Regions from separate parts of the Homo sapiens genome. Here regions 1, 2, 4, 5, 6 and 7 are each linked to region 3. Evidence: promoter capture Hi-C in 16 types of primary human blood cells and fetal thymus (Javierre and others, 2016). All regions are on one chromosome and are shown on one strand. Each heading gives the region's core, a stretch centred on a gene start or on the middle of the fragment in contact. The rest is flanking DNA. Distances are from core to core; before and after follow the strand shown.

What was found. The method cuts DNA at HindIII sites, captures the fragments that hold promoters and counts their contacts. A CHiCAGO score of 5 or more calls a contact.
Region 1: a fragment that was not itself captured here is called in contact with the fragment with the promoter of RFC3 in region 3 in 1 of 17 cell types (naive CD4 T cells); the score reaches 5.1 in naive CD4 T cells.
Region 2: a contact is called between a fragment that was not itself captured here and the fragment with the promoter of RFC3 in region 3, in 1 of 17 cell types (naive CD8 T cells). The highest score is 5.1, in naive CD8 T cells.
Region 4: a contact is called between a fragment that was not itself captured here and the fragment with the promoter of RFC3 in region 3, in 5 of 17 cell types (activated CD4 T cells, naive CD4 T cells, total CD4 T cells and 2 more). The highest score is 7.4, in activated CD4 T cells.
Region 5: a contact is called between a fragment that was not itself captured here and the fragment with the promoter of RFC3 in region 3, in 1 of 17 cell types (naive CD8 T cells). The highest score is 6.5, in naive CD8 T cells.
Region 6: a contact is called between a fragment that was not itself captured here and the fragment with the promoter of RFC3 in region 3, in 7 of 17 cell types (fetal thymus, naive CD8 T cells, total CD4 T cells and 4 more). The highest score is 8.5, in fetal thymus.
Region 7: a fragment that was not itself captured here is called in contact with the fragment with the promoter of RFC3 in region 3 in 1 of 17 cell types (total CD4 T cells); the score reaches 5.1 in total CD4 T cells.

What each region holds. Positions count from the first base shown.
Region 1 is chr13:32,707,017-32,710,427 of GRCh38, forward strand. It overlaps PDS5B (PDS5 cohesin associated factor B), which reads left to right. Exons shown (of 35, transcript NM_015032.4): 18 at 1-23; 19 at 2,930-3,090. Among named protein-coding and RNA genes, the nearest start is that of PDS5B, 120 kb to the left of the region's middle. The HindIII fragment of the contact is 1,063 bases long and covers 730-1,792 here.
Region 2 is chr13:32,791,258-32,794,414 of GRCh38, forward strand. No RefSeq gene overlaps it. Among named protein-coding and RNA genes, the nearest start is that of LINC00423, 120 kb to the right of the region's middle. The HindIII fragment of the contact is 3,212 bases long and covers 1-2,936 here.
Region 3 is chr13:33,816,143-33,819,641 of GRCh38, forward strand. It overlaps RFC3 (replication factor C subunit 3), which reads left to right and starts at 2,007. Exons shown (of 9, transcript NM_002915.4): 1 at 2,007-2,123. The coding sequence starts at 2,037. The HindIII fragment of the contact is 2,489 bases long and covers 1,562-3,499 here.
Region 4 is chr13:32,734,539-32,737,639 of GRCh38, forward strand. PDS5B (PDS5 cohesin associated factor B) reads left to right here. Exons shown (of 35, transcript NM_015032.4): 21 at 634-792. Among named protein-coding and RNA genes, the nearest start is that of PDS5B, 150 kb to the left of the region's middle. The HindIII fragment of the contact is 2,769 bases long and covers 1-2,754 here.
Region 5 is chr13:32,629,049-32,632,441 of GRCh38, forward strand. All of the region lies in intron 1 of PDS5B (PDS5 cohesin associated factor B), which reads left to right. Among named protein-coding and RNA genes, the nearest start is that of PDS5B, 44 kb to the left of the region's middle. The HindIII fragment of the contact is 2,310 bases long and covers 535-2,844 here.
Region 6 is chr13:32,645,712-32,648,951 of GRCh38, forward strand. PDS5B (PDS5 cohesin associated factor B) reads left to right here. Exons shown (of 35, transcript NM_015032.4): 2 at 3,043-3,169. The coding sequence starts at 3,062. Among named protein-coding and RNA genes, the nearest start is that of PDS5B, 61 kb to the left of the region's middle. RefSeq lists an enhancer at 460-569. The HindIII fragment of the contact is 2,822 bases long and covers 1-2,822 here.
Region 7 is chr13:32,750,201-32,753,658 of GRCh38, forward strand. PDS5B (PDS5 cohesin associated factor B) reads left to right here. Exons shown (of 35, transcript NM_015032.4): 25 at 3,132-3,336. Among named protein-coding and RNA genes, the nearest start is that of LINC00423, 160 kb to the right of the region's middle. RefSeq lists a silencer at 131-425. The HindIII fragment of the contact is 4,555 bases long and covers 1-3,458 here.

The DNA.
Region 1 (3,411 bases), core at 11-2,510, 1.1 Mb before region 3:
GAGCAGGTCTTGAACTGCTTAAGGTAAGTATCTATTTAAAATTAAGTGCCTAATTAGATATCTGTTTAACATATACAGTTTATATTATTTGTTCTTGATGTTTTCTTCTTAAGTTTGTATAATCCAAAGTAAAATTTTCTCAGTTGTTTTAGATGATTTAGAAGTTGTATATTTATTCTTACATGTAATCTGATTATTTTGGGGTTTAAATGCTGTAATCTAGCCTAGTACTAATTATATTAAAATAGTGGAGTATAATTCAGGGTGTCATTAGTGAGCAAAGAAGGTACAACTCTGCTGTAGAATGAGCCAAATTCTTTCTAAAACTCTTATTTTTTTTTGTTTCATAAAATATTCTGTCTTTTACTGATTGTAAAAATATTAATTCATTATTGACAACTTTAGAATATATAAAATTATAAAAAACATAGGTTGATCATACATAAACATTAGTTTCTTTTGTTTCCTTTTAATCTTCAACAAATGCATAGTTGGGATCATTGAGATCAAACTGAATATACAATTTTGTATCCTTAACTATTTTCCCTTATTAAAGTATAAGCATTTTTCTCGGTGTTTTTCAAGAGTTTTTTTTTTTAAGAGTGTCTAAAGCAGATCTGGTTTTTGGCTGTCATCTAGTAGCTGTCTGCCTTTGACCACATTACTTGCCTCATTTCCTCATATGAAATCGAGATAATAATAAAGTACTTGTCTTGCAAAGGACGTTAAAGCTTGTACATGAATTTCTTAGCACCATGCCTAGCTCATAGTAAAAATAATAATAAACATTTTTGAAATGGTGATTAGCCCATATTTGGGGCATCATACTATCCTACCGAGGTAGGAGGCAGGACTGGACTCCAGAGGCGGAGCTCAGATACAGGACCAAATTGAGGACTAGCTAAAACAAGGGCGAGATAGAAGCAGCTTTCCAGAAGACATGCCCACCAATGTGCCTTGTCAGTTTACCATTGCTATGGCAATACCCCGGAGTTACTGTCCCTTTCCTTGGCAATGACCTGATGACCCAAAAGCTACTCCCCGTTCCCTAGGAATTTCTGCATAAACTGCCCCCTTAGTCTGTATATAATTAAAAGTAGGTATAAATATTACTGTAAAACTGCCCTGAGCTACAACTCTCTGCACCCTACCTATGGGGTAGTACTGTTCTGCAGAAGCAGTCATAGAGGTGTATGTAACACCTCCGGAGCAGTAAGACTGCTGCTTCAGTAAAGCTATTTTCTTCTGCCCTATCACTGGCTTGCCCTTGAATTCTTTCCTTGGCAAAGCCAAGAATCCTTGCGGGCTAATCCTCACTTTGGGACTCTCCTTTCTCTGTATCACTAGTATTTTCCTATTGTTGAATATTTTGATTTTTCTACTTTTATTCTTACAAACAACACTAAGGTGAATGTTTCTATGTAAGATCTCTTGGTAATATCTTATTTTTTAGAAAACTGGGAGAGCATTACTGAGTTAAAGAGAGTGACCACTTTCAAAATTCTTGGAGCAATATATATTTAAATTGCTGTACAGGGAAATTTTACCGATATATAATCCCATCAGTAGTATGTGAAGGTACCCGTCTTTTTAACCTTCAAAATATGGAATATAATACATTTTTAAAAGATTTGCGAATCTGATAAGCAAAAATAATGTTTTAATTTGCATATTTAATACTAGTGAGGTCCATATGTTAATCATTTGTGTTTTCCCTATGGTCATTTTTATCCTTTGCTCATACATCTACTGACATCTCTATCTTTTGTTTTTTTTTAAACTGATTTAAATAAGCTTTTTATTTCCTTTGCTTTTTCCTGGGACATATTTGATATATGTACAAACATGTATTCTCTTATATGTAAATTATGAAGTGTAGTAACCAAGTGAATACAAGTGAAAAGTAAATAGAGTGTCAAATTAAATTGAATATTAAAAATACTGTTCAAGTTCCCTGAGTAGTCTTTTTTCTTGCCTGCTTACATCCCCTTACCAGGTATCATTGTCCTGAATTTTGGATTTATTATTCTTTCAATATTCTTTATAGTTTTATCATCTATGTATGTATCTCTAAATAACATGTTGCTTATTTTGATTATTTTAGAAACTTATAAATGTGGCATTATACTTAGTATATTTTTCTGCTGTGTGCTGTTTTTTTTACATTCCACATTTGATTCCTTTTGTTTATTTTATGCTTTAAAAAACCCTATCTTATACAGAGGGTTTTTGTTGTTTTTATTTTTTAAAATCTTAAACACAACCCATCTGAAATTTATTTTGAAAGTGTGTTGTGGGGGCAAGGGGTCTAATTTGATTTTCTCCCAATAGCTATTCAGTTTTCCCAGGACTATTTATTTTCTGTTGACTTCTTTGTAATCTCTTACAATTTATATAATCTAATTTTTTATATATTCTAGAGTCTACTTAACTGCCTTACATTTTCTGTTTCATGATTATTCTAATGTTCGTACCATTGTGATTTGGACATTGGAACTTTATAGACTTTTTTACTGTCTGGTCAGTCTAGTTTATTCTCCTCTTCTTCAGTCTCTGCTAATGATGTTTATTGAGAAGATGAGAGATGTTTTGTTAAATTCTCTCTTCATGTCCCCTTTTCTCCTCTCATTCCCCACCAAAAAACCTGAACAATAATCAAAATCTAAATTATTTTGATTAAAATTATATTAACATGTAATTTAATTTTGGAAGAAATTACTTCATTATATCATACAATCTTCCTACAGAGGAACATTTCTGTTACATAGTTGAGTATGTTTTAAATTTTATTTATAGTGCTCTCAGATTTTGGTCAACATAATTTTTTTTAATAGACTTTGATTTATAGTATTTCTAATATGTAATATTTTGGATTTGTATTATAAAGATGAAAAAGTTTTACAAATCATTTTTATGATTCATTTTATAGGTACTCTCATTTACACATCCCATCTCATTTCATTCTGCTGAAACATTTGAATCATTACTGGCTTGTCTGAAAATGGATGATGAAAAAGTAGCAGAAGCTGCACTACAAATTTTCAAAAACACAGGAAGCAAAATTGAAGAGGATTTTCCACACATCAGATCGTGAGTTGAGTTTATTTTCAAAAATATTCTGGACATCAGAAACATAATTATTTCTTGATTTATGCAATAATTGGGAATCTTTCAAGTTTTGAGGAAAAACTGTCTAGGTTATCTTAAGTCTGTAATGTTCAGTTTAGATTCTCCTTTCCTGGGAGAAAGCTTTGATTGGTATTTTAGAAGATGCATGAGTGTGGGGGATAAACATGGCATGTCTTTCTGATGCATCAGTTAGATAGTCCCTGGTATATTATGGCATAGAATAAACAATTCATATGAATTTAAGGTATGATGGGAAGTTTCAAAGGAATTTCATCAGGACTA
Region 2 (3,157 bases), core at 81-2,580, 1.0 Mb before region 3:
ATCACAGGTGACTTCTGATAGTGCAGACTTAGGGCACTATTGGGGTGGGGGAAAAGAAGGCAGAAGCCAGACTGCAGTGGGGTGAGCAAATGTGAGTTCAGGAAGTGGAGATAGTGGAGGCTGATTTGGAGAAGTCTGGATGAGGAGGAACAAGGAGATGCCTTTTTTTTTTTTTTTTAAGGATAAACTATACTTGAACATTTTTTCCCATTAAACATACATGTATTGGGGTACCTGCCCACAGCCTTTTTAATCTGCTGTGGCACATTGCCTCTACTGAGTTGCATGATCTTGTCTTCCCTCTGATCCTACCTCACAGAGAAGAGTAGCCCGTTCACAATGACCTATGTATTGTGTGACCTGTTTGTATTTTCTTGTAGGAATTTGAATTAAAAGACACAGACAAGTTTCCAGTGAGTCATGGAGAGTAAATAAAAAATCCACGGGCTACTCTGGGCCATATGTGAGAGGAATTTAAGGGAAAGCCTGCTGCAGGACAAAGGTGGGTGAGCAGATGTGTGGAAAGAAGAAGAGAAGTCCCTAGAGATTACGTGAGAAAGAGGTGGCCTCGATCTGAATCCACCCCTGCACCTTCTGAGCACTGTGGCCTTGCAGTAACCACCTCCCCACTTCCTGTTATTCAAACTGGTTTGAAGGGATTTCACTTTCTCCCAGATGAAAGGACCCTGACTGGAGCAGTCTTGCTCGGACCTCTTCATCTTCAGCCCCTGTTTGTTCAGATGTGTTGTACAGATAAATACCAGAGTGTGTGAAGATGCTGTCTTACCAGGTTATTCTTTTCTCTTTTTAGAGACAAGGTCTTGCTCTGTCACCCAGGCTGGAGTGCAGAGGCGCGATCACAGCTCAGTGCAGCCTTGCACTCCCGGGCTCAAGCAATCCTCCCACCTCCATCTCCCAAGTAGCTGGGACTACAGGTGTGTGCCACCACACCTGGCTAATTTTTCAGTACTTTTTGTAGAGACTAGGTCTCACTATGTTGCCCAGGCTGTTCTCGAACTCCTGGACTCAAGCAGTCCTGCCTCAGCTTCCCAAAGTGTTGGGATTACAGGTGTGAGCCACCCTCCCTGACCTCCACCAAGCTATTGTTCTCCCGCTCACAGCTGTCTACTACACAATGAAGTATAAAATCAACAAGCCTTTCACAGCCTGCCAGAATATGGCTTCATCCTACTTTCCAAACTTTTTCATGGTATTTTCTGTTAACTTTACTTCTGCCAGACTGACTGTACCTGTCGTTCAACACACTGTATATCTACACCCTTAGTCCTGGCTTACATCATTCTGCTTGTCAGTGATCTAGACCCTTTGTATTCAAAGTGTGGGTCAAGCAGCAGGATGGGCATCACCTGGGAGCTTGTTAAGAATGCAGAATCTCACAGCCCACCCCAGACCTCCTGAGAATCTGCTTTTCAGTAAGATCCCTGGATAATTGAAATTCACCTTAAAACTTGAGAAGCATTGGTCTCTGCTGCCTGTGCAAATATCCCTTCTGCTTTAAGTCCTAGCCTAGGGGTTGTTTGTCCCATTATATTTTTTTCTGACCATATAGTGATAGTGGTTCGCTTCAACCGGAATTCCTATAGCACCATGAGAAACGAATAGTAATAGTTTAATTGAGTACTTGCTGTGAACTGATCACTAGAGTAAGCATTTTATATGTGTCGCTTAATTACTCTTTACAACAATCCTATGAGGTATGTTTATCACCATTTTACGGATAAAGGAACCAAGACTTGGAGAGTAACTTGCCATGTTCACACGGCTTGGGTCAGAGCCAGAATTTGGATTTAGATCTTTCTGATTCTTGAGCCCACAAAGCATACATATCTTTATAGTAACAAGACTGAGAAAACCAGTCACACTAGAGCATATGACTCTAAATGAATACCTCAGAGTATTAACTGTAATGACTTGTCATTATCATCTTGCTAACTTACAGCTATGAAATTATCTGTAGAGGAAATTAACAATCCATTAAAGAAACTCTGATTACTTTATGGCCAACCCATGCATAGCCTATGCCACTTCTTAGTTTTAGTGTTTTCACCATTTTGAGGTGGAGCATCATACAACTTGTCACCTATGCTTCTATAAAACAGAGACTTTTAAACATTTAAAGAATACTATATAAAACTGCCACAGTGCTTTGTACATAGTAAACATGTAACAAATATGTACTGAATTCGTTTGATTCTCACAATTAATTGTGTCATAATCATCCCTGATTCAATCTCTAATAACATATCCAAAACTGAATTCCTGGGCTTTCCACCCGTGCCCACCTCCAAACCCGGTCCAACCTCAGCTTTCCCCATCTCCATCTGTAGCAATTTCATTATTTTAGTTATTCATGCGCAAGCCATGAAGTCGATTCCATTTCCCTCACACATCCTTTCTAATCTGTCAGGAAATCCTGTTGACTCTTCTTGCAAAATATATCCAGGATCTAACCACCTCCACTGCTACTTCCATCCAAGCCACTATTATATCTTACCTGGTTTATCAGTTTGCTAGGGCCACCATAAAAACTACTACAAACTGGATATCTTAACAGAAATTTATTAGCTCACAATTCTGGAGGCCGGAAATTCTGGAGACCAAAATTAAGGTGCTGGTAGCGTTGGTTCCTTCTGAGGGCAGGATTTATTCCAGGTTTCTCTCTGGCTTGTAGATAGCTATCTCCTCCATGCGTCTGTTTATATCATCTTATGTGTGTATCTGTGTTCAAATTTCCCCGTTTTATAAGGACACCAGTCATATTGGATTAAGGCCCACCCTAATGACCTCGTCTTAAAACCTCTGTAAAGACTAACTCCAAATAAGTCACATTCTGAGGTAGTGGGGGTTAAAACTTCAATATATGAATTTGAGTGGGTAGGGGCACATTCAACCCATAACATCAGGATTGTTGCAGAAGCTTCTTACCTGGTTTGTCTACTTCTTCTCTTGTCTCCCAGAGCCCTTTCTCCACACAGCAGCCAGAGTTACCCTTTTAAAATGGAATTCAGGTCCTATGTCTCTTTTGCTTAAAATTCCCCAATGCATCAACATTGGAATGAAAGCCAAGGTCCTTACAGTGGTCTCACAGGCCGTATGACCTGGTCGCCGTCACATCTCTGACTTTATCGCCTCCTAC
Region 3 (3,499 bases), core at 757-3,256:
ACATGGGAGGCTGAGGTGGGAGGATCGCTTGAACCCAGGAGGTGGAGGTTGCAGTGAGCCGAGATCGCATCACTGCACTCCAGCCTGGGAGACAGACTGGGACTCCATCTCAAGAAAAAAAAAAAGAGCTAAGATACCTGAGGGCCAGAGTCATTAAACATTAAAGTGATTGCAGCTGTAGTTTACCAACCCCGAGGACTTTACTTCCTCTGTAGCAATTTCTCATATCCTATATATTCAAGAGTCTGGAGTAAAATTGCTAGATAAATACAGGGCCCTGGTTACATTTGAATTTCAGATAAAGGCTGATTTTTTTTCTCATATAAGTATGTCCCTGGCAATATTTATTACAATTTCAAATATTGCCAGGGACATACTTATATGAGAAAAAAAATCATTTGTAATAAATTTTGCCATAGACATATGAAAAAGCTTCTGAAATTCAAATTTAACTGGACTTCCTGGGTCACCACACTATTTCTCCTTCCTCAGAACCCCCAACAATATTGAAGCACATGTCTTCATGTGCTTCAATGGTAGAGACATGTCTTCACGGTAGAGACCATCAACCACTGCTCCTTATTGAAGTTGTCTGTCATGCCTGTGGTCACTCTTGCCAAATTATTGATCATTCTAGCACTTGGTTCTTCTCTTTATTCCTCTCAGTACTTATTTCCATTATCATTCATTATGATTATGATATACACATAGACCACAATTCAGTATCCCTGCTTCTGATTTCCTTTACCTTCTCATTTCAAACACTTCCTCCATTTCAATTCCAAAGGAGAGAAGCATAAAGAAGATGAAGCTTTTTTGCAATATTAAATAGGGTGGTCAGGGAAGCCTCAGTGAGGAGATAATACTTGAGCCAACATCCTGAAGGAAATGAGGGACCCAACTCTGCTGACTGGAGAAACATAGTCCAGGAAGAGGAAACAGTAATTGCAAAGGCCCTGAGGCAGAAGCCTTCCAGGCTTATTATAGAAAGTTTCTCGAGAACAGGGATTAAATCTTATACTTGGTGGTGTGGATAATACCTTACCTGCAGGAGTAATTCATGTAATATGACGATTCATAGAAGAACATGATAAATTATTGATTAATAAATGAGTAAGAGGCACCTTGGTGAAAGGTTATTAAGTATATTTGGAAATCATTTCCTGCCTGTAAGACCTTGCAATCAAATGGCAGGACTTAGGGTTCTTAATAATACATAAAATAAAAGCATAAATTAAATAAGGAATTAATATTATGTACAATGAGTAAAGTGCATTTTGAGAGGCACTATTTGAAGAGAACTTCAAAAGTTGCATATCAACTTCATATGCAGAATATTTTTCTGAGGGGTTCAGATGCTTCTACACATTTTAATTGGAGGGCTTTCAAATATTCTAGACTTAGAATGCATATTAACCTCGTGTCTTCTCCCCTACAGACCACATTTGGGTAGTTTTTCCATGCTCTTGATTCTTTTGTTTCTAATCCAATAAGAATATTGAGGAATAGAGGTAACAAAGGATAGTGAAGATCAGACATTTTCAAGCGATTCATCCAATGAAGCTTTACTGGGTACCTGCCAAGTGAGTGAAACCCTGAGATGTATATATTCTAGTGCCGAGGACAGAGTTCCACACCTAGCAGATATTTAGTAAATTTTTGTTGAATGAATTAAGTGAATGAAAGAATGAATAAATGAAAGGAACGGTCTTCTCTGAGGTATCTGGATGTGACGCCAAAAGGGTCAGAACCACATTTTCAATTCCGCTTGATAATTTCTAGAATATAATAGACGGTGCGAACAAAGAGAAAATAAATAAAGCAGTGAACTTCAGAACTAGAGGGCATCGACGCGGCAGCTGATTTTGTCTGCACACGGCCCCCGTAGCCTTTCCGTCCAAAATCATTTACGCGGCCGCGACCGGTAGTGACGTCACGAGATTTGGAGCTCGCGGGAAAACTTGTCTCTGCGTTGTGGGGAGGACGCGCGCTCGCGCGGGATTTTCAAGCGTAGGCCCCCGGGAACTCGAGCTGCCATGAGCCTCTGGGTGGACAAGTATCGGCCCTGCTCCTTGGGACGGCTGGACTATCACAAGGAGCAGGCGGCCCAGCTGCGGAACCTGGTGAGTCTGCGGGGGCCGGGAGCGTGGGAGAGGGGAGGCCCCCCGGCTCGGGGTTTCGCGCCCCCCTGAGGAGCAGTGCTTCTCCCGCCCGCATTGGAAGGTGATAAGTGCTATGGAGAAAAATAACACAGGGAAGGGGGAAGAGGTGTGGGAGGCTGGCTTGTATTTTTAAACAAGAAAAGCTCCACTGAGAAGTGGCATCTGAGCCGAGACTTGAAGGAAATTGAAAAGTCATAAATACAGAAATCCGAGCAAAGAGTGGAACAGGTAAGAGGGGACAGCAAGTGCAAAATTCCCGGGCAGGGATGTGCACGGCATGTTCTAAGAACCTCAGGAGGCCGGCGTAGCCGATAGTGGTGAACCAGCGGGAAGGGTAATCGGAGATGGGTGTATGTGTTGGGATGGAGTTGGAGTGCAGACCCAGTCAGTCTCAGAATAAGACGAGAAGCCGTTGGAGCATTTTGAGCGGAGATGACACCATGTGATTTACTTTCTAGCTGGCTTAAGATTTCTCGATGTCATTGTCATTTACAAGTAAAGTGTTGTAAATATGTATTTACTCCAAAGATCGTTTCTAATTCTCAAATAAATTGTATTAGGACGTTCCTGAGATTAGTTTTTTTTTTTTTTTTTTTTTTTTTTGAGACGGAGTTTAGCTGTTGTCGCCCAGGCTGGAATGCAATGGCGCGGTCTCGGCTCACTGCAACCTCCGCCTCACGGGTTCAAGCGATTCTCCTGCCTCAGCCTCCCGAGTAGCTGGGATTACAGGCGCCCGCCACCACGCACAGCTAATTTTTGTATTTTTCAGTAGAGACGGGGTTTCACCACGTTGGCCAGGCTGGTCTCGAACTCCTGACCTCAGGTGATCCGCCTGCCTCGGCCTCCCAAAGTGCTGGGATTACAGGCGTGGGCCACCGTGCGTGGCTGAGATTAGAGCTTTGTGAAAGATCCTCTCCCCTCTATCCTGATGCCTCTTTGTCTGTTGTAGTTGATAAAAGTGCCCAATGGCAATATTTTGTGAGAACGAACTGAATCTTCCAGGGAGTAGAGAGTAAAGAAGGATCTTTAGGAGAATAAAGTGTCTGTGGAAGACATTTATCCACTCCTTTTAAGGAACTCAAATTAATATATGATGCTGATGGAAACGTTTTTGCCCAATACCCTGGTTTTCCCTTCCGACCTTTCTTAGATTTACAGATACTATTTAATTAAGTGCGTCTTAAAAATAAGAAATAATAAGAAAAGATTGTACACGTAAAAATCATTAGACTAGTTGATAGTGTTGTGACATTGAAGGTTTTTTTTTGGTCTCTTTATTGATACTGCATGTATACTAATTTAAAATAAATTGATTACTGCAGTATCCATCATTTATA
Region 4 (3,101 bases), core at 120-2,619, 1.1 Mb before region 3:
TCTGAAAAGTCTAGTGGGTGTTTGAATGACCCTCTAATCAGTGGCTTAGGGACACAGACTCATTCTGATTAGTGACTTCTCTTTAAATCCCACTGGATCCTTGGCATCAAGCCAGCCAGTGAGTAGAGCCTGTGGAGAAGACATATTGCTCATACCTACCTCAGTGCATATGTGGCATACTTCATTTTACTCCCACTCTCTTGACCAGAACTCATTCATATATCCTCACTTAACTGCACAGGAAGCTGCAAGTAGAGTCATCCTTATGCCCAGGAAATTGAAGTGGATATTGGTGAGCCCTAGCAGTCTCTAACACATTCATGTATATGGTCATAAACTATATGCTATGAAGTCTGTGTCGAAATGTTTCTTTACCCTACCTCTAAACTGAATTGGGCAAAACTGAAAATGTTTGAACCTGATGCCTTCTGGACATAGATAACCTATAGAAGTCTAAATGTAATCTTGAGTTACTACTTATACTATGTATATTTATTGAAATTTTTGTAGTTTTTATAATTTGAATTACAAAATAAATTACAAAATAAATTTTGTAATTTGAAAATGAAATATGTAAACAGTTTATTTGTATATGTGTAGAGTTGAAATATATTTTCCTCCCCTCATTTTCAGCCTCTGCATAAGAGCCTAGATCCAAGCAACCTGGAACATCTCATAACACCATTGGTTACTATTGGTCATATTGCTCTCCTTGCACCTGATCAATTTGCTGCTCCTTTGAAATCTTTGGTAGCTACTTTCATTGTGAAAGATCTTCTCATGAATGATCGGGTAATTTATATTTTTTAGATTCATGTTCTTTGTAATGTTAACTTTTGCAATTTTATCCAACAAGGAAAGAAGTGAAATGATATCAATAATACTTCCATTTGACTGCCTTGATTTTAGGTTTTCCTGTTTAAAAAAAATAAGCCTTGTCTCCATTATAAGCAAAACCATCTTGAAACATCTTTTTAGTTGAGAATAGGCATATGACCTCAAATACATTCCTTGATAAATATAAAATATAACCTGATGCTATCTATTTCAGATTTACAGGGGTTTAATTTTTGACAGGACATCTATTTTTAAAAATATGCAGATTGGTAAACCAGCTCATAGTATGGTTGTCATGATTATAGTTTTACCTTTTTCTATATAAACTTGTTCTTTTCCCTACATTGGGAGAGAACGAAAAAACATTGGGAGAGGAAATAATGATTTTGTTAGTCTCCAGTTATTTTGTATCTGCTGTGACAGCACTGTACTAGGTTCTCTGGAGAATTAAAAGAAACATGAGATAAAGTTTTTCCTCCAAAAAGTAAACATAATATAAGTAGTGATATCTGGGTTAATCTGCCACCTGATTTTTTGTTTTCAGTTTGTCCTGTCAGTTGTGTATTTTTCTCTTTTCTTATTTTTGATTAAATATTTTTATTTCATTTTACCAGTCTGTTTTACATTTTGCTATTATTTTAGTAGTTTTCCTAGAAATTACAACATGGACTTTGGACTTATTAAAGGCCAGTGTCAGTTGGTCTGCTTTGAACTTTCAGTATAGCACAAGGAACTTCAAAATACTTTAATTCCTTTTATTCCTTGGTGCTTTTTTGTGCTCTTGTTCACCCAGTTCTATTACTGCTGTTATTTTATGCAGTTAATGTTTATTTAGATTTGCCAACATATTTTCTCCTTTTGTTTTTCATTCCTTTCTATGTAATGATTTTCTTTCTATCTAAAGAACTACTTTAGTACTTTTTTTTTAGTTTGGATTTCCACTAATGAATTTTCTCAGTTTTTGTTTGTCTGGAAAGATCTTTATTTTACCTTAATTTTTTAAAGGATGCTTTCTTTGGGTTAAGAATTCTAGACTGGTGTATTTTCCCCCATCAGTGATTTGAATATATTATTCTATTTTCCATTTTCTTTTTTCTTGAAGTTTATTGACAGTCTTGTTCCTCTGAAGGTCTTCTGTCTGTTTGCTGTGAATGTTTTTGTCTTTTCTGTTTTCCATTGGTTTCCAGTTTTACTATGATGTGTCTGGGTATGCTTTCCTTTATAGTTATTGTACTTGGGGCTTAGAGCTCTTCTTGTATATATAGCTTAAAGTTTTTTACAAACTTTAAATAATTTTTAGGCATTATCTTTACATATACGATTTCTGTTTCATATTCTCTTTCCTTTCTTACTGCAGTTCTATTAACACACTTTAAACGTACATTGTTTTTTTGCTGTGACCTAGCTGTGTGACACACTTTTGTGTACTTTTCTGCCAGCCTCCTCATGCTTCAGTTTTTGTTTTTTTTCTGACCTATCTTTGAGTTCACTCGCTTCAGTTTTGTCTAGTCGTACCTAAAGCTCATGCTTTGAATTCTTAATTTCACATATATACACATACTTCAATTCTGTAATTCTATAGTTTTTAAACATAGCTCTTTGTTTTGCTGCAGAATTTGCTTGTCATTAAATCCTTGAAAAATCTTAATTATGTGAAGTTTGTATCTGTTAGGCTTATCATCTTGATCTCTTGTAACTTTTGTCTATTCTCAAAATTTTGGTCAAATCTTACCTTGTACATATATTGCTTTTGATTGAGTGATAGACTTTTTGTATGAAAAGTTGTTGAGATAATGTGAGGCTTCAGATGTGGTTATATTCTTCCCAGAGTTTTACTTTTGTTTCTATCAGGCAGTTAAGCTATCGTCAGATCACTTCCATCCAATGAAAATGGAAGTTTGGCTTCAGTTTTGGACAAGCTTATTATTTTTTTCTGGTCACCTTATGTCTAGAGTATATTTGTCTGGGATCCACCCAGAAGTCCAGGTTGTTTAACAAGGCCTTTACTTAATGGGCTCAGGATTCTTAATCTTGTTCTTCTAGCTCTGTGACAGGAAAGCTTTGCTCAACTTCTTATCCCCCTTTCACTTTCAGAATCATTAATCGTCTGTGTGAAAAAACTAATCTCAGTGCCAGACTCAAATCTTTGCTTTCCCTCCTTATTTGAAACTTTGCCCTGCAAATTCTCACTGCTTTGGTAGCTGTCTGTTGCCTTCAAACTGATTTTTAAAAAATATTTTGTTTAGCCTTTCCGTTTGTTTCAG
Region 5 (3,393 bases), core at 440-2,939, 1.2 Mb before region 3:
ACATCTGACAGATCACCGGTTTTCAAATTTTTCTCTGTGAACTTTCTTGACAAGAGAAGTTGGGGGTATTGGAATACCCATCACTCAATTCAGCCAGAGCAGCTCTCTTTTAACCTATTTGATATATTGCACATTGTTATAATGTTTTGGTTAGAAGAGTTTGTTTCATGATTAAAATAAGTTTGAAGAATCATTGCTCCGAGTTGTTCGATTTTTTTTTTTTAACCTTTTCTTTTTTTTCTAGGTCAAACCAGACATTGAGATCACTGGCTTTTTGGATACCTTGTGTTGGCTGCATTTCTTGTATATTTGGATACCGAGTGTTGGCTACATTGGATACCTTGTGTTGGCTACAATTCTTGTAGAATGTTTTCTACTGAATCATACTTTAAGTACTTTGAATTGTACTTTGGCTTGCATTGAGGGATAAAAAGGGGTGGTTAAAACTCACTTCTGTGTTTATCCTTGTTGGAGTTATCCATTACATTACTCACTGACCCATTAGGTTTCAGCGAGGATGCAGATGTCACATAAAGCTTCACTTCTCCTCAATAGCTCTTAGACAATGTTTATCTTATGGTTGATATTTCTTATTCATCTTATGCCCTTTGATTTATTGGTTTTGTACCTTGCTTACAGGGCTTTTATAGTTTATTTTTGAAATAAACCAAGAAGTTGAGTGTGCCTCTGTGGCCATTTCCAGCCATATAACCATGTAAGCAGGTATGATGTAGTTCTAATTCTGCCATTTGGGAACTTTCTGATCTTGGGCAAAATCAGCGAATTTCTCTTGTCCCAGTTTTCTTCATTTGTTAAAAAATATGGATGATAATAAAATCAGAGTTGATGATTTTCCAAAAACATCTTTCAGCAAATTCAGTGACTAGTTTATAGGCTTTTAATGGGTTACTTAATGAAAGCCAAAAAGAAAAGAAAGAAGATACCCAATTGCATTCAACTAACTGAAAGTGAATGTAGGGGCCAAGACAAGTATAGCTCAAATTTGGAGTTTCCAGGTATTGTTCTTCACATCCTTGAGATATTAGAAGCAGTGTTCCTTAACTTTCTTTTTTGACGATAGATGTTAGAGAATACACCACAAGCTCTGCTCCATCTCCCCAGAAGAATGTACATTATCACATGCATGCAAACTCTGTATACTCTTTTAGATGACTATAGATGGTTCATAGACCTCCTGAAGACCATTTATGGGTTTCCTATGTGGAATCTGAGTGTAAGAACAGACCTAGAGCAGTAGTTCTCAGTGTGGGGTGATTTTGCCCTGCAGGGGACACTTGGCAATGTCTGGAGACATTTTTGGTTGTCACAACTGGGGATGGTGATGGTGTGCATGCCCTCCTCATATCTAGTGAGTAGAGCCCAGGGATGCTGCTGAACATTGTACAATGCACAGGTGCACCCTGACCTCCACTTGCAATAAAGAATTTTTGGCAAAAAACGTGAGAGTGCTGAGGTTGAGAAGCCCTGATGTAGAGGAAGTGATGAATGGGATTTCTTTAAAAAATCCTTCAGAAATATAATTGTTCTCTGGTCTTTTTTGATAGTAGTTGGGTAGTAGATAGTGCAAGGTTAAAATCTCTGAGCCTCACTCTGTCTTGAGTATTCTTCCCTCAGGTATTTGCATGGTTTATCATCATTCTTTTTCAGGTTTCCACTCAAATGTCACCTTGTCATAGAGTCCTTTCCAGTCTTTGCAAGCTAAAACAGTTCTCTTCCTTACTTTTTTTTTTTTTTTCAGACGGAGTCTCACTTCTGTCCAGGCTGGAGTGCAGTGGCGCCATCTCGGCTTACTGTAACCTCCGCCTCCTGGATTCAAGTCATTCTCCTGCCTCAGCCTCCCGAGTAGCTGAGATTACAGGCATGCACCACCATGGCCGGATAATTTTTGTATTTTTTCTTTTTTTGGTGGAGACAGGGTTTCACCATGTTGGCCAGGCTGGTCTCGAACTCCTGTCTCAAGTGATCCACCTGCCTTGGCCTTCCAAAGTGTTGGGATTACAGGCATGAGCCACCACACCTGGCCATCTCTATTGATTCTTTTTTTCTTTCTTTTTTTTTTTTTTTGAGATGGGGTCTCACTCTGTTGCTTGGGCTGGGGTGCAGTGGTGGGATCGTGGCTCACTGTAGCCTCGACATCCCTAGGCTTAGGTGATCCTCTCACCTCAGCCTCCCAGTTAGTTGGGACTAATTTTTTTGTATTTTTTGTAGTGGTGGCGTTTCACCATGTTGCCCAGGCTGGTCTCAAACTCCTGGGCTCAAGCAGTCCACCTGCCTTGACCTCCCAAAGTGTTAGGATTACAGGCGTGAGCCGTGGCGCTCGGCCCCTATTTTTCTTAACATTTCACATTATCTAACACATACATTGACATTTGTTGTCTGTTTTCCTTCAACTTTAATATAAGCTATGCCACGAGAACAATAATCTTTGGCTTTCTCCTACAGTTATATTCCCCAGTCAACAGTACCTGGGATATAATAGGTGCTCAATAAATATTTGTTGTTGAAAGAATGAATGATCTGAGTCTGTATTGTGGCAAGTTTGATTGTATTGTTTTGGCAGAGCCCAATGTTTTAGAGATCAAAGGTGCAGTAAAGTTGACAGTTTTTTGTGAAAATTAGGAGTTCTTACCTAAGTTGTCAGTTGGATATAGTATAGGCCAGGAATATGTATCTGAAGGCAAAGCCAGGATTTAAGGGAAAAAAAAGTTCTTTGGCTTCTTTACAACATGAATTGAGCACCTGAAGTTGTGTTCTAAACTGTTTTCTAAACTTGTCTGACCATAGGAATTGTCTGAGACATTCCTTAAAAACGGCAGAATCTGAAGCTTCTCCCCACACCTCCTGAATCAAAATTTCTAGAGGAGGAACCAGGATATTCTTATTAAAAACAAAGAGGGAAAGAATATCTTCAACAGATGACACTGGGACAACTGGATTTCCACATGCAAAAGAATTAAGTTGGACCTCTCCTTCACATAGTAGATAAAAATGAGCTCAAAATGATCAATGATGTAAATGTAAGATTTAAGCCTGTATACTTTTAGAAGAAAATATGGGAGTAGAATTTTATGAACCTGAATTTATTAGCACAAACAATAAAAAATATATATTGGACTTTATAAAAATTAAAAACTTTTCTGCATCAAAGGACATAAGAAAATGAAAACACAACCTACAGAAGAAAATATTTGCAAGTCATATCTTTAACAAGGATTTAATGTCCAGAATATATAAAGAACTACAGGTCAATGACAAAAAGACAACCTAATTTAAAAGTGAGCAATGATCTTGAATAGACATTTTTCCAAAGATACACAAATAGACCTGTAAGCACATAAGATACTCAACACCATTAATCATTAGGAAAATGAA
Region 6 (3,240 bases), core at 162-2,661, 1.2 Mb before region 3:
AGCTTTTTGTTGAAGTATAACATACATTCAGGAAAGTGTAAAACTTATGTCTTTAGCTCTATATGACTTCACACAAAGTGAAAATACTTGTGTAACTAGCATCTTAGAAGTATCTTTTCACCCCTTTTTCCGTTAACATTTGTCTCCCAAAACATCACTGTCCTGACTTTTACTGTCATAGATTAGGTTTCTCTGTTTTCGAGCTTATAAATGTAATCATACTCTTATGTAGTGTTTTGTGTCTGGCTTCTTTCACTTTGATGTGTGTGTGTGGGTGTGTGGGTGTGTGGTGTGTGGTGTGTGGTGTGTGTTGAGACAAGGTCCACTCTGTCATTCAGGCTTGAGTGCAGTGGTGTGATCATGGCTTGCTGTGGCTTTGACTTCCTGGGCTTAAGCAGGACTTCCACCTCAGCTTCCCGGGTAGCTGGGACCACAGGTGCACACCACTATGCTTGGCTAATTTATTTTTATTTTTTGTAGAGATGAGGTCTCACTGTATTGCCCAGGCTGGTCTTGAACTCCTGGGCTCAAGTGATCCACCTGCCTTAGCCTTCCCAGATGCTGGGATTACAGATGTGAACCATCATGCCCATCCAGATGTTTGTAATGTTAATCCATATTATTGTGTGAGGCAATGATTTATTCTCTCATGGCTGTGTTTTTTTTTTTTTTTTTTTTTTTGCCCCCATTGTATGACTATACTACAAATTGCTATTCATTCTAGTGTTGATGGTCATTTGTGTTTTCTGTTTTGGCAACTGAATGGTATTGCTGTGAACATTTTTTTATATGTCTTACGGTGGACAAACTATACGTTTCTATTGAGTAAATACCACAGAGTGAATCTGGGGCCTATTTATCTTTTTTTTTTTTAACTTGATATTTAGCTTAACGGGTTTTAGTGTTTGCATGACATAATTTTCCATCCTTTTACTTTCAGCATGTATCCACTTTTTTCATTGTCTTTTAAGGTGTTTATGTTGAAATTTAAAAATCTTTTCTTTTAACCTGATTGTGTATATTACATACACATATAGTACTTAGTATGTGCTAAGCAATGTTGTAGGTACTTTATATATAAATACTTACACCTCTTAGTTTTCATTTGGCTAATTTGCCCTTATTTTACTCTGCACTTAAAAATTATACTCCTTGGTTGTAAACTTCTAGATTTGCAGTTATATTCTTTCTCTGCTTTGAAGATAACATTTTGCTGTCTTCTGGCTTATGTTGTTGCTGTTGAGAAGTCACCTGTTAGTTTAAATGCTATTCCTTTCAAGGTACTGTGTGTGCTCTAAATTTTGTTTGTTTTCTGGAATTATTATTATTTTAAATTTAACCCTGTTTGGCTTACTGAATTTGTAGGTTGGTATTTTATGATATTCTCTGTAGGTATTTGGCCTCTGCTTCAATCTAGTCCTTCTGGTACTCTCATGAATCCCATGAGTGAATCTCTCATTCTTCTCTCTCTATAACTTCCATGAATTGTAGGCTACATTTAGGCCTTTCTATCCTTATGTATTTCAGGTGTATGTTTCACTGTGTTGCACTCCGGATAATTTCTTATGACCTTTCTTTCACTTCATTCTTTCTTTTTTGAGACAGGTGGAATGCAGTGGCGCAATCTCAGCTCACTGCAACCTCTACCTCCTGGGTTCAAGCAGCTCCCCTACTGCAGCCTCCCGAGTATCTGGGACTACAGGGGTGTGCCACCACACCTGGCTGATTTTTGTATTTTTTGTAGAGATGGGATTTTGGTATGTTGCCCAGGCTGTTCTTAAACTTTGGAGCTCAAAGTTTAAGCTCAAAAGGCCTGCCTTGGCCTCCCAAATGTGCTGGGATTACAGGCGTGAGCAATCCCACCTGGCCTTTAATGGTTTTTCGTATCTGCGAATACATTGACCTGTTGAATTTTCAATTTCAGTAATTGTATTTTTTCATTTTTAGAAGTTCTATTTAAAAAAAATCTTCTAGTTTAGTCTTTATAATTTTTTTTGTTTCCTGTAGATATTTTTGGAATTGTCTTTTATTTCTTTAAGATTATAGTAGTTTTACAGTCTTTGATAGACACAAAAATTGTGTCTGTTTTTGTTGTGTGGTATTTCTGCTGGTTCTCCCTCATAGTTGCTTGGTTATTTTTGACTTGATACTTGCTCATTGTTCTAGAAACATCATAGTGGGGATTCTTTGATACTTAGGATGAAGGCACCCTTCTCTAGGCAGGACTTGGATTTACTTATGTTAGGTGCTTGGGGCTGTTATTAACCAGGGGTCTGTGAGTTCATGTTTTGAGATTCTCTGGGCCACTTAGGTCATGTCAGCCCCAGCAAGTGTGCAGGCCCATGGCCAAAACTAATTACCTGTTCCTTCCCTGTATTCATGTTGCCTTTCTCTGTTTAGCACCAAGGCAGCCTTCTCAGCGGTTCCCTCTAGGGGGTGGGGCTGGGGAAAAGAGGTGTTCATTTCTAGTTTACCCTCTCCTTTGCAGGTATATCTTCTTTGGGTAGGGTGGTGGCCTACATTAATGTCAGGAGAGTTTCCTATTTGACTGTCTGCCTTGATATGTTCAGATTTACTTCTGTTCCCCTTGCCCTATAAGACCATCAAAACTGAATCCCACATTTGTCAGAAATGAAAAATGCTTTCAGAGTATAAGTAGCTATAATGTCCCAGTGTTCCCACTTACTTCCCTGGATTCCTATTTTCTCTTAGGTTTTAGTTTGAGTACTTTGTGGTGCTTTTAAAAAGTATTTATTTTTTATTTTTCTCTAGCTTACTATTATTATTATTATTTTTAGTTGGAGGGTTAGGACAAATAACAAAGCTTGCCACTGAGGAAATGAAAGTAAAAATAAGTTTTGTTTTTCTAAAAATAATTTGGGGAAATGTTCAATAGAGTGATTTTCATTAAATGGTAAAGTAAATTACTATAAATTAGGAGGTAGTTACAAATTTTGGTTGGTGGGGAAGGTTACCATTTATGTTTGTTAAGAATGTTTATATCTATTTTTTGGTTTGCATCTAATAGTTTTCTTGTTTCAGGGGTAGAAATATTTCTGTCATGGCTCATTCAAAGACTAGGACCAATGATGGAAAAATTACATATCCGCCTGGGGTCAAGGAAATATCAGATAAAATATCTAAAGAGGAGATGGTGAGACGATTAAAGGTGAGTAAAATTCTATTCTTTTTTACATCTGTGTAGGGCAGAGGTCCCCTGTGGAAATCACATGGGGCTAT
Region 7 (3,458 bases), core at 636-3,135, 1.1 Mb before region 3:
CTGCTACTTGTGTGATGCTTCAAGGATTGACATTGCAATTAATTTGTCTTGTATTGTTGCATCCTGAATGATTAGTCAGAGAGGGACAAAAACCTGGACTTGATTGGGATTTTAATGAATGGCCTGTTCATTTGTGAATACGCTTGTGATATGTGGATTTTTACTTACCCAGTTTGTAATTGGGTATTTTCATAGTAAATCTATAACGGAGACTCCTCTCCTCTGTGGGACTGATACTGAGGGCGGGGTGAGTTAATGTTAACTTTGTTTCGTGGAGTATGAGGGTAGATAACTTTCTGTGAAAACTAGACTGCTTCTTCCCCTTCCCTCCCTACAGCTAATTCCCCCCTCCTCCCCCCAAAATGGAGTCTTGCTCTGTCACCCAGGCTGGAGTGCAGTGGTGTGATCTCGGCTCACTGTAACCTCTGCCTCCCGGGTTTAAGCGATTCTCCTGCCTCAGCCTCCCAAGTAGCTGGGATTACAGGTGCCTGCCACCACACCTGGCTAATTATTGTATTTTCAGTAGAAACAGGGCTTCACCATGTTGGCCAGGCTGGTCTCGAACTCCTGACCTCAGGTGATCCACTTGCCTTGGCCTCCCAAAGTGTTGGAATTTCAGGCGTGAGCCACTGCGCCCGGCCTCCCTCTGTGTGTGTGTGTGTGTGTGTGTGTGTGTGTGTGTGTGTGTTTTAAACTTTAGGTTCAGGGGTACATGTACAGGTTTGTTATCTAGGTAAATTGTTTGTCACAGAAGTTAGGTGTACAGATTATTTCATCACACAGGTGATAAGCATAGTACCCAAAAGGTAGTTTTTCCATCTTCACCCTCCTACCCTCCACCCTCAAGAAGGCTTTGGTGTCTGTTCTTCTCTTCTTTGTGTTCATGTGTACTCAATGTTTAGCTCCCACTTTCAAGTGAGAACAGCAGTATTTGGTTTTCTGTTCCTTTATTCACTAAAGGTAATGGCCTCCAGCTCCATCCATATTGCTGCAAAAAGCACATGTAGTATTCCATGGTGTATCTGTATCACATTTTCTTTATCCAGTGTACTGTTGATGGACATTTAGATTGATTCTGTGTCTTTGCTGTTGTGAATAGTGCTGCAGTGAACATATACATACATACATGTGCCTTCATGGTAGACATGATTTATAATCCTTTGGGTATATACCCAGTAATGGGATTGCTATGTCAAATGGTAGTCCTGTTTTCAGTTCTTTGAGAAATCACCAACCTGCTTTCCGCAATGGCTAAACTAATTTACATTCTCACCAGCATTGTATTAGTGCTCCCCTTTCTCCACAGTCTCACCAGCATCTATTATTTTTTGGCTTTCTAATAATGGCCGTTCTGACTGGTATGAGATGGTATCTCGTGGTTTTGATTTGCATTTCACTAATGATTAACGATGTTGAACATTTTTTCATATGCTTGTTGTCTGTGTGTATATCTTCTTTTGAAAAGTGTCTATGTCCTTTGCCCACTTTTTAATGGAGTTGTTTGGTTTTTGTTTGTTAATTTATTTAAGTTTCTTAGAGATTCTGGATATTAGACTTTTGTTGGATGCATAGTTTGCAAAAATTTTCTCCCATTCTGTAGTTTGTCTGTTTACTCTGTTGATGGTTTGTTTCTTTTGCTGTGCAGAAGCTCTTTAGTTTAGACTACTTCTGTAAAACTAGATGTTTGGTATTTTGATAAACTGAAATTTAAATGAAATGAAAGAAGATTTTAAAATAAGGATTTAAAGATAAGGATGAGATGTTATGACCAAGATTTTTGGGGAAGATAAACTAAATGATCATTCTAGATGAAGAAATTGTTACAATAGTAAGAAACACACCATACCTTATTTAATTGGTGGAGTGTAAGGTGTAATCATGAAGGTCTTTGTAGGTCATATAGAAAAGTTTGAACTTTTCCCTGTGCAGTAGTCTCCCCTATCTTTGGTTTTGCTTTTCCACAGTAAGATATTTTAAGAACAAGGGAGACCACATTCACATAACATTTATTATATAGTATATTGTTATACTTGTTCTATCTTATTAGTTACTGTTAATTTCTTGCTGTGCCTAATTTATAAATTAAACTTTATCATAGGTATCTATATATAGAAAAACGCGTAATATATATAGGATTTGGTACTATCCTCAGTTTCAGGCATCCACTGTGGGTCTTGGAATGTATCCTCTACCTCCACTGATAAGGGGGAGCTAGTGTCGTTCAGAAAAACTTCTGATCATCTATGTGCCAGGTTTTTTGTTAGGCTTAGAGAGATAAAAACATAATTCTTTTCTTCAAGGAACAAGTACTGGTGGGTAAGACAGACATTTAAACCAATCATTTTAATACTTTATACTAAATGCTATGCTGGAGATAAGTACAGAATGCTAAGAGCACAGAGGTGGGTGCTGGATACAGATTACACACTGCGTTCTGTCTGATATATAAGCTATCTTTAAGGATAAGTAGGAGTTAGCTAGGAGACTAGGGGTGGGTAGTTTAGGAGAGGGGAGTAGTATGAGTTAAGCAGGCACACGGGTAATAATCAGCCTGGTTTAAGTATAGAAGTCAAAATAATTTGGTGTTTCTGAAATGGATTAGTAATCCTTACCTTCAGAGTTGTGCTTTTTATTTCTTTATTAAGAGACAGGGTCTTGCTATGTCTGCCTTAGCCTCCCGAGTAGTTGGGACTACAGGTGTGTACCACCATGCCCAGCTAGAGTTGTACATTTTAATATGAATAGTTTTTTTCAGTGACAGAACTAAAATGTATAAATTGGGCAGTTTTATCTTGCCCAGTAAATGAAAAAGATATATATGAGATGGTGTTTAAGCCTTAATTTTTGTATCTTATTTAAGTTAGGGCAGATTTATATTTACTAGTTTTTTTCTGTTTTAAAAGTATGTTTGTTTTCTAACACATCTAACTGGTACTTATTAGGGCCCAGATGAATATTGCAGCTTCAAAATGAACTTTAGTCACAACATCTCACTCTTGTGAGCAGTGAAGCAATTATTGTAGATAAACTTGCTACTGTTTACTCTTTACTTAAAATAGCAAATTTTATATCTGAAGTTGTTACTCTTTGCTGCCATTTGAATAATATCTGGAATAATTGTGTCTTTACAGGATGAATGCTATCAAGTAAGACAAGTGTTTGCCCAGAAACTTCACAAAGGCCTTTCCCGTTTACGGCTTCCACTTGAGTATATGGCAATCTGTGCCCTTTGTGCAAAAGATCCTGTAAAGGAGAGAAGAGCTCATGCTAGGCAATGTTTGGTGAAAAATATAAATGTAAGGCGGGAGTATCTGAAGCAGCATGCAGCTGTTAGTGGTAAGCATATAAGAAAATGGAAAGGATACTTTTTCAGCCTGCTAGTTTCAGTTTTATAGAATATAGCATGATATATGATATTACTGTTATTTATTATTTGTGATTAACAATTTTTATTACCA